Linked DNA regions of Homo sapiens: region 2 is linked to region 1. The links are contacts of gene promoters, found by promoter capture Hi-C in blood cells and fetal thymus (Javierre and others, 2016). All regions are on one chromosome and are shown on one strand. Each heading gives the region's core, a stretch centred on a gene start or on the middle of the fragment in contact. The rest is flanking DNA. Distances are from core to core; before and after follow the strand shown.

Region 1 (3,518 bases), core at 486-2,985:
CCTTTCAAAATATGTTAAGACACATAATAAATTTTATCTTTTAAAGCTACATCTACTAGTCACAGATAGGTCACAGCTTGACCACACAAGTGCAATGAAAACAGTGCTCACTTCATTCCTGAGGACTACTTTAACTCCATTAATCCCCAGGAGATAGGATCTATGAATATAAATTTGAATTCTTATATTAAATCTGCCGGATTTACACTCTCCATCTTAGAGACAGCATGGAATAGTGAAAAAGTACGAGTTCTGCACTCAGAAATAGCCACATGCAATTTCTAAATTCACCACTGACCTTGTACAAATTACTGGACTCCTCTCTGCCTCAGTTCCTTATCTGCACAGGGGAATAGTATCTACTTTGTAGATTTCATAGACAAGACAAAGTGCCTAGCATGGTGCTTGGCACAGAGCTAATTCTTAATAATCTTATTTTAAGCATGGTTTTGACAATTTTTATTGCTTTGGAATGACTGATCAGGCTAATGACAGAGACTCTTCAAAGATTTACATTCTCCCTGCATTTAAATACTTATAACCAGCGATTACACAGGTGCTGCTGAGGCAAAGCGCAGCACCATTGGTCTCGTTCTAAACACCCACCTGTGAGGAATAAGTGCCTTAAGATTCCCCTTTGTATTAATATCAACACCTGTGCTACCCAACAGCACACCAGCCCGGCTCTCAGAGGTCTGCCCGTTAACAGGTGTACAATAAATATTTGTTGAATTGAAATGCTACTGACTCAAGCAAAAAATGAATGCTAATGTAAATTATAATCCATACAAATCCTTCAATAAGTGGTGTCTGAATTCTGTGCGTCCTGAAGCAAGTGTTCTAACGTCTCACGGTTCACTGAGAAGCTGCTTGGTACCTTAAGGGTTCGCACCCTTGTACCTTCCAGACCAAGCTCTTGTAAGCATCTAGAGGAGGCTGAAACCCTCAGTCAGCATCGCACAGAAGTTCATTCAGACTAGAGAAAACCTCTTTTATGGCAACCCAATCATTTAAAAAAAGCCGTCAGCACATTTGCTTAACAAATGGACAGTGCAGGAGGGAACTAATTGCGGAAACTAATCGCCACTCAAGTTCACCACCAACATCACTGTCTTTATTTTTAACTTACTTATCTTCAGTGGGATTGAGACACTGTTTGTTACCTACGCAATTATCCCAAGGATTTCTGCTCCGGTGTCGTTGAGCAAATGTCAGCGCAAAGAATTAAAGTTGAACCTCCGGGTCTCTACGAAGAGAGCGTATTAAAGCCCACCCAGCTGAGGAACTGACCTCTGTGGAAGGAGTCCTGGATGTGGCGGTGACTACCTCCGTAGCGCCCCGGGGAGACTGAATGTGTGGCCTTTAAAATGCAAAGAAATTCTGGGCCAGGCTGCCCTCCCCTAGTGCGCCTTCCAGTACGCCACGCCTGGATTTCTGCCTCCAGTCCTCAGGACACCTTTCTGATCTCTGAACCACAAGCAGCTCCGGGGTAGTAGCGCCACTGAATTCTCATCCTGGACCCTCCAGCTCCCCAACTCCCAGCTTCGGTTGAGAGAAGACGCCCACCCCCAGGCGGCGACCGTGCTGCCCGGCCCACGCGCGCTGCCAGGTGAACCCGGCACCGCCCTCACCTGTGCGAGGCCGCGTTCGGGGGCTGCAAAGCTGGGCAGGCGCGCGCCCCTCACCTGCACCGGACCCGCTGCAGTCGCCACTCGGAAGCGCAGGGAGCAACCCTGACGCGGCGGGGGCGGGGGCATCACCGAGGGCCCCCGGACTTCCTCGGGCCCCCCCACCGCCCTTGCGAGCCCCGCCTAAAGGGGAGGAGGCGGCCGCGCGTCACCTTTGAGCAGCCTCCGACCCAAGCGCCCGCGCTGCCGCCGGGAGCTCGGCCGGGTGTTGCAAGGAGGCGCTATGCTTGGTGCTGGGCACTGGCTGGGCGTAGAGAAGGCGATTACTTGTAACTCATTCGTTTGGGTTGGCTCACAGGAAAAGGAAGGTGTGTCCAAAAAGTCCGAAGTGAGGAAATAGGACGAGGATGGCTTGCAAACTCGTAAAGTCTTAATAAGCTGTCTTCGCTGATACTCAGAAGGGTTCTCTTCGCTCCTGTAGGTCCCTAATAGATTCATGGGAAGACAGCAGCCTCCCTTTGTAACGCCCTGACCCTGGGAAGAGGTACCCGAGCCAGACAGCCTATTAACCTATGCCACGTGTGCGCGACTGTGGGTGGAAGATGCCCGCCCAGATCCACAGAACTGTTTCCTGAGCCTTGGTGCCTCATCTATGAGATAAGGCCGGCGTACTGCTCAGCAAGCCGTCCCGAGTACTCGGCAGAGAACCCTAAAGACCCTCCCGTGCGATTGTTGGCACTCAGCGAATATTTGCTATTTATTTCCCCTTTCCCTTACTTTCTTTTTCTACTTTTTTTTACGCCGCTTTCCTGCTGTAATTGTCTTATTGCACTTTGTTTGCTCGGTTTCACTGCCTGGTCAGTTTCTTTTCCCGTCTATGAACGAGCCTAAGTCTGTGCGCTCTAGGAATTTGGGTGGATTAGGAAAAGAAATGTATGATCCATGCCTTCTGGGAGATCAGGGACTCATCTCTGGGAAATAGCATTTTTAAATTAGATACAAGAGAGTTACAGAAAATAACCTTAAAACGGGAATGGGACCTCTGGGAATAGGCGAGCTCTGAAATGAAGCGTTTAGTTGGTGTCACTGGTGATTAAGAGCTCCGGCTTTGGAGTCAGACCTCAAATCAAATTCTGCCTGGGCAACTAATTGTGTAAATGGACGAGTTCACTTAACCTCTCTAAATTTTAACTTCAACAAACTGGTTGTTTAAATAGCTTAAAATAGCTTAAATAGCTTAAAATAATAGCTATCTCATACTTTCTGAGAAATTAATTAGGTAATTCACATAAAATCCTCATTACAGTGTCCTGGGCCATGGTAACCACTTAATAAAAGTTAGCTATTAACAATACTAAGGTAGGAAATGGGAGGAAGGGGCATAAAAATTTAGAAAACATGAGGACGTGATAGAAAACAGCTGCCACTGTCATGCAATTCCGACTTACAACAATAGCTACCACTGAGGAACACAACTTCGCACCAGTTTCTGTGATTGGCATGTAACACGTGATCATATTGAATTTTCACAAACCAGGAGACAGTTAATAAAATCTCTGATTCAAGATGAGGAAAATGAGCATCAGAACCATGAAATAACCTGCCTGAAGCTATGAGTCAAGTTAGTAGCCGAGTCAGAGCAAGCTGAGGCCTATGGCAAAATTGGCTTTTCCCACCGTGCCGAAGGTTACATCCCCTAGCAGAGAACAGAGAGAGGTAAGGGTAAAACAGCATGAAAGGAAGAAGAGAAAGAGCAGTAGGCAGACGAAGCAATCATACCTTTAAAGCTGACTAAGAATACAAATGAATTAAAATAGTAAGTGAACCCACACAAAAGCTTTTTTGCCTTTAACTCCTGCCCCAGTGGAGTTCCTGTTCTGTGGTTCCGGC
Region 2 (4,054 bases), core at 890-3,389, 950 kb after region 1:
CACTGCTAGATGGAACAGAAAACACACTTCACGGCCAGGCGCAGTGGCTCACACCTGTAATCCCAGCACTTTGGGAGGCTGAGGCAGGCAGATCATCTGAGGTCAGGAGTTCCAGACCAGCCGGGCCAACATGGTGAAATCCCGTCCCTACAAAAAATACAAAAATTAGCCGGGTGTGGTGGCAGGTGCCTGTAATCCCAGCTACTCGGGAGGCTGAGGCAGGAGAATCGCTTCAACCTGGGAGATGGAGGTTGCAGTGAGCTGAGATTGCGCCACTGCACTCCAGCCTGGGAGATAGAGCGAGACTCCGTCTCAAAAAAAAAGGAAAGAAAACCCACTGCACAGTCAGGCTTGTCTCTTCCAATTTTTCTATCCCTCTCCCCAATTTGCAGATGAGAAAACTAAGGCCCAGGAAGATTAGATAGAATACTGAGAGTCACAGAGCTGGGTGATCCAGGCCCAGGACACAAGTCCTTTCCCTACCAGTGAAAGAACTGCCTCCCTCTCGCTGCCTGCCTCTCCAGCTCACTCCCTCTTCTGTCTATTAAAAAGAGATTGATCCTCCCCTCTCCATCTAAGTCACAGTCATGCAGTCGCAGTGGCTTTCTTCACCCACAACAGAGCAAAAGTAGCCAGGAAATCAAGTGATGTGTCCCCTTGGGGATGGAGAGAGGAGAAATATCACTCAAGCTGGGCCAGGAAATCAACAGGTTTGTGTCAGGCCTCTGAGCCCAAGTCAAGCCATCGCATCCCCTGTGACTTGCACGTATATGCCCAGATGGCCTGAAGTAACTGAAGAATCACAGAAGAAGTGAAAATGCCCTGCCCCACCTTAACTGATGACATTCCACCACAAAAGACGTGAAAATGGCCGGTCCTTGCCTTAACTGATGACATTACCTTGTGAAAGTCCTTTTCCTGGCTCATCCGGGCTCAAAAAGCTCCCCCACTGAGCACCTTGAGACCCCCACTCCTGCCCACCTGAGAACAAATCCCCTTTGACTGTAATTTTCCTTTATCTCCCCAAATCCTATAAAACCGCCCCACCCTTATCTCCCTTCGCTGACTCTGTTTTTGGACTCAGCCCGCCTGCAGCCAGGTGATTAAAAGCTTTATTGCTCACACAAAGCCTGTTTGGTGGTCTCTTCACTCCGACGCGCATGAAAGTTTCAAAGTGAGGGAAAGGACAACAATGTTTTCACTCTGAATTCCCCAAGGACTTCAAATGGCTATGGCTGGGGAGATTTCCTGACCTAGCCACCCTGACCCCTGAGAAATGGCTGTGTTCATGGCCTGGAGAGGTGAGTAACTGAAGGATCGCAGGCCATCAAGCACCAGGCCTGAAGCCAAGCTGCACAGCTGCCATGGGGAGGGCTGGCTGGCTTCTCCGCTCTTGCAGGCCCACGATGACGGCGATGGTGACAGGACTCACTGGGCCACACTGCACTTGTCTCGGGAGGACAGCACCATGCCACCAGGAGCCAAGGGCATGGAAAAATAACGTTCTCCAGTTAGCCTAAGGCAAATGGGAGTCTAGCATTATGCGTATTTTAAAAGATATGACCTTATTCTGTACCCCAAGCTGGTGAAGTGAGAAATATGGATTGTATAAGTTAATGTCTAGACTCCCATCAGAGTATTTTAAACCCCTTTAGCCTCCATGTATGACCAGAAAGGACTAGTCTGAATTTAAAAAAAAAAAAAAAAAAAAAACACTTTTCCTACACCACAAATTATTAGGTAATGGAATAAACCTTTTTTTTTTCAAAAGTAACTTTTAATTTTAGAATGGTTTGGATTTACAGAAAAACTGCCACAATAGTACAGAGAGTTCCCATATACCCATAAACCTCAAGCAATTTTCCCCTGCTAATAATATCTTCTGTTAGTATGGTACATTCATTACAATTAATGAACCAATAGCAATGTATTATTGTTATTATTAACTAACATCCATACTTTATTCAGATAGCCTTAGTTTCTACCAATGTCCCTCCACTCTTGCAGGATACCACCCTGGACACCACATCACATTTAGGCATTGCCTCCTTCAGCTCCTCTTGGCCCTGACGGCTTCCCAGAGTGTCTTTGGTTTTGATGGCTTTTCAAATGTGAGAGGTATTGATCAGGCATTCTGCAGACTCTCCCTTCATCGGGATTGCTCTGATGTTTTCCTGGTGATTAGACTTGGGCGAGGGATTTAGGGAGGAAGACCTCAGAGATGAAGAGCCATTCCCATCCCATCGTATCAGGGCATGTACAGTTAGCATGGTTCGTTGCTCTTAACCTTGACCACCTGATTGAGGTGGTGTTTGTCAGGTGTCTCCACCGTACTCCTTTGGAGTTCCTCCTTCCACACTGTACTCTCTGGATGGAAGTCCCGATGCACAGCCCACATGAAAGGAGAGAGGAGTTACGCTCCACCTCCTCGAGGGCGGAATATTGACATGAATTATTTGGATTTCTTCTCACCGGGAGGTTTGAAAGAGACTGTTTTCTTTTTTTTCTTTTTTCTTTCTTTTTTTTTTTTTTTTTTTTTTTGAGACAGAGCTTCGCTCTTGTTGCCCAGATTGCAATGGCGTGATCTCCGCTCACTGCAACCTCCACCTTCTGGGTTCAAGCGATTCTCCTGCCTCAGCCTCCTGAGTAGCTGGGATTACAGGCATGCACCTCCACGCCCAGCTCATTTTGTATTTTTATTAGAGACGGGGTTTCTCCACGTTGGTCAGGCTGGTTTCTAACTCCGGACCTCAGGTGATCCGCCTGCCTCGGCCTCCCAAAGTGCTGGGATTACAGGTGTGAGCCACTGCGCCAACCTGAAAGAGACTGTTTTCTAAATGTAAGCTGAAATGACTCGTTTCACATCTGCATTTTTAGTAAATAGGTGTTGGAGTATATCAGGGGCTCTCGAACAGTGTTCCACAAAGCTGTGAGGTTCCAAGAAGAAAGTTAGAGGCTTCGGGAGGAAGCAGGCAGTGAGCAGGGCTCCAGCCTCGGTGCTCAGATTACCCAGAGCCAAGAGGAGGCTGAGGAGACGTGACATCTAAATGCGATGTGAGATCCAGGGTGGGGATCCAGGGGATCCCAACTATTATTGGCTTCTATTTTAAGTATTCACATGAAATGGATTTTGCAGAAAATAATTTTGCTTGTAAAAAATAAGCTTGCAATACTCCGAAAGGTTGACTGTGAATGCCTCTACTACTTCCAGTTACCTACCTTCTAATAACATCACGAGATCACGTATTACTCATTAGATCCCATTTTTAAAAAGAAACAAAAATATTCTGTAGTAAAAGCTTTTGGGTTTTGTTCCCCTAATTTTTCCTGTGGAAAATACTGGGTAAAGTGAAAATCATCTTCAGATATGAAACCTGCAAGTCATGATCAGCTGCTAAACCGAATGTGACTATGAAGAACTGGCTCGCTCAGCCGCCCTCATCCTCAGTTCATGTCATCCCGTTTCTCGCTGAATCAGGCCACATGCATGGCCTAAAGATCTGGCTGCACAAGGCCAGGTGCGGTGGCTCACGCCTGTCATCCCAGCACTTTGGGAGGCTAAGGCGGGCAGATCACGAGGTCAGGAGATCGAGACCATCCTGGCTAACACGGTGAAACCCCGTCTCTACTAAAAATACAAAAAAAAAAAATTAGCCAGTCGTGGTGGCGGGCACCTGCAGTCCCAGCTACTCGGCAGGTTGAGGCAGGAGAATGGCGTGAATCCGGGAGGCAGGGCTTGCAGTGAGCCGAGATCCCGCCACAGCACTCCAGCCTGGGCAAGTCTCCATCTCAAAAAAAAAAAAAAGATCTGGCTGCACAAAAGGTTAAAATCTCGCCTCTCTTCTTTATTCAGCCATCTCCCTGCAAACCCGAGTTTATGTGTGAGGTGCTCTGGGTCCCCAGGCAGCAGCAATCCCTCCCAATTCCTATTCAACTTGATTTTCCAAAGTGGCAGATTTGAGTTGATGCAGCCGAAGAAGCCAGCTAAGTGTCTTCCTGAGAATAGCCTGTCCCATCTCTTTCTAAAAGGAGAGCAGATATTGCCGCAATGACA

Evidence for each region. The method cuts DNA at HindIII sites, captures the fragments that hold promoters and counts their contacts. A CHiCAGO score of 5 or more calls a contact.
Region 2: a contact is called between a fragment that was not itself captured here and the fragment with the promoter of MCTP2 in region 1, in 1 of 17 cell types (monocytes). The highest score is 5.8, in monocytes.

What each region holds. Positions count from the first base shown.
Region 1 is chr15:94,229,778-94,233,295 of GRCh38, reverse strand. It overlaps MCTP2 (multiple C2 and transmembrane domain containing 2), which reads right to left and starts at 1,735. Exons shown (of 23, transcript NM_001385001.1): 1 at 1,632-1,735. RefSeq lists a silencer at 1,676-1,805 and an enhancer at 3,341-3,480. The HindIII fragment of the contact is 9,020 bases long and covers 1-3,467 here.
Region 2 is chr15:93,275,483-93,279,536 of GRCh38, reverse strand. The region is part of intron 5 of LOC105370982 (a long non-coding RNA gene); the gene reads right to left. Among named protein-coding and RNA genes, the nearest start is that of RGMA, 190 kb to the right of the region's middle. RefSeq lists enhancers at 123-1,004, 1,005-1,887, 3,145-3,645, 3,646-4,054. The HindIII fragment of the contact is 2,053 bases long and covers 1,113-3,165 here.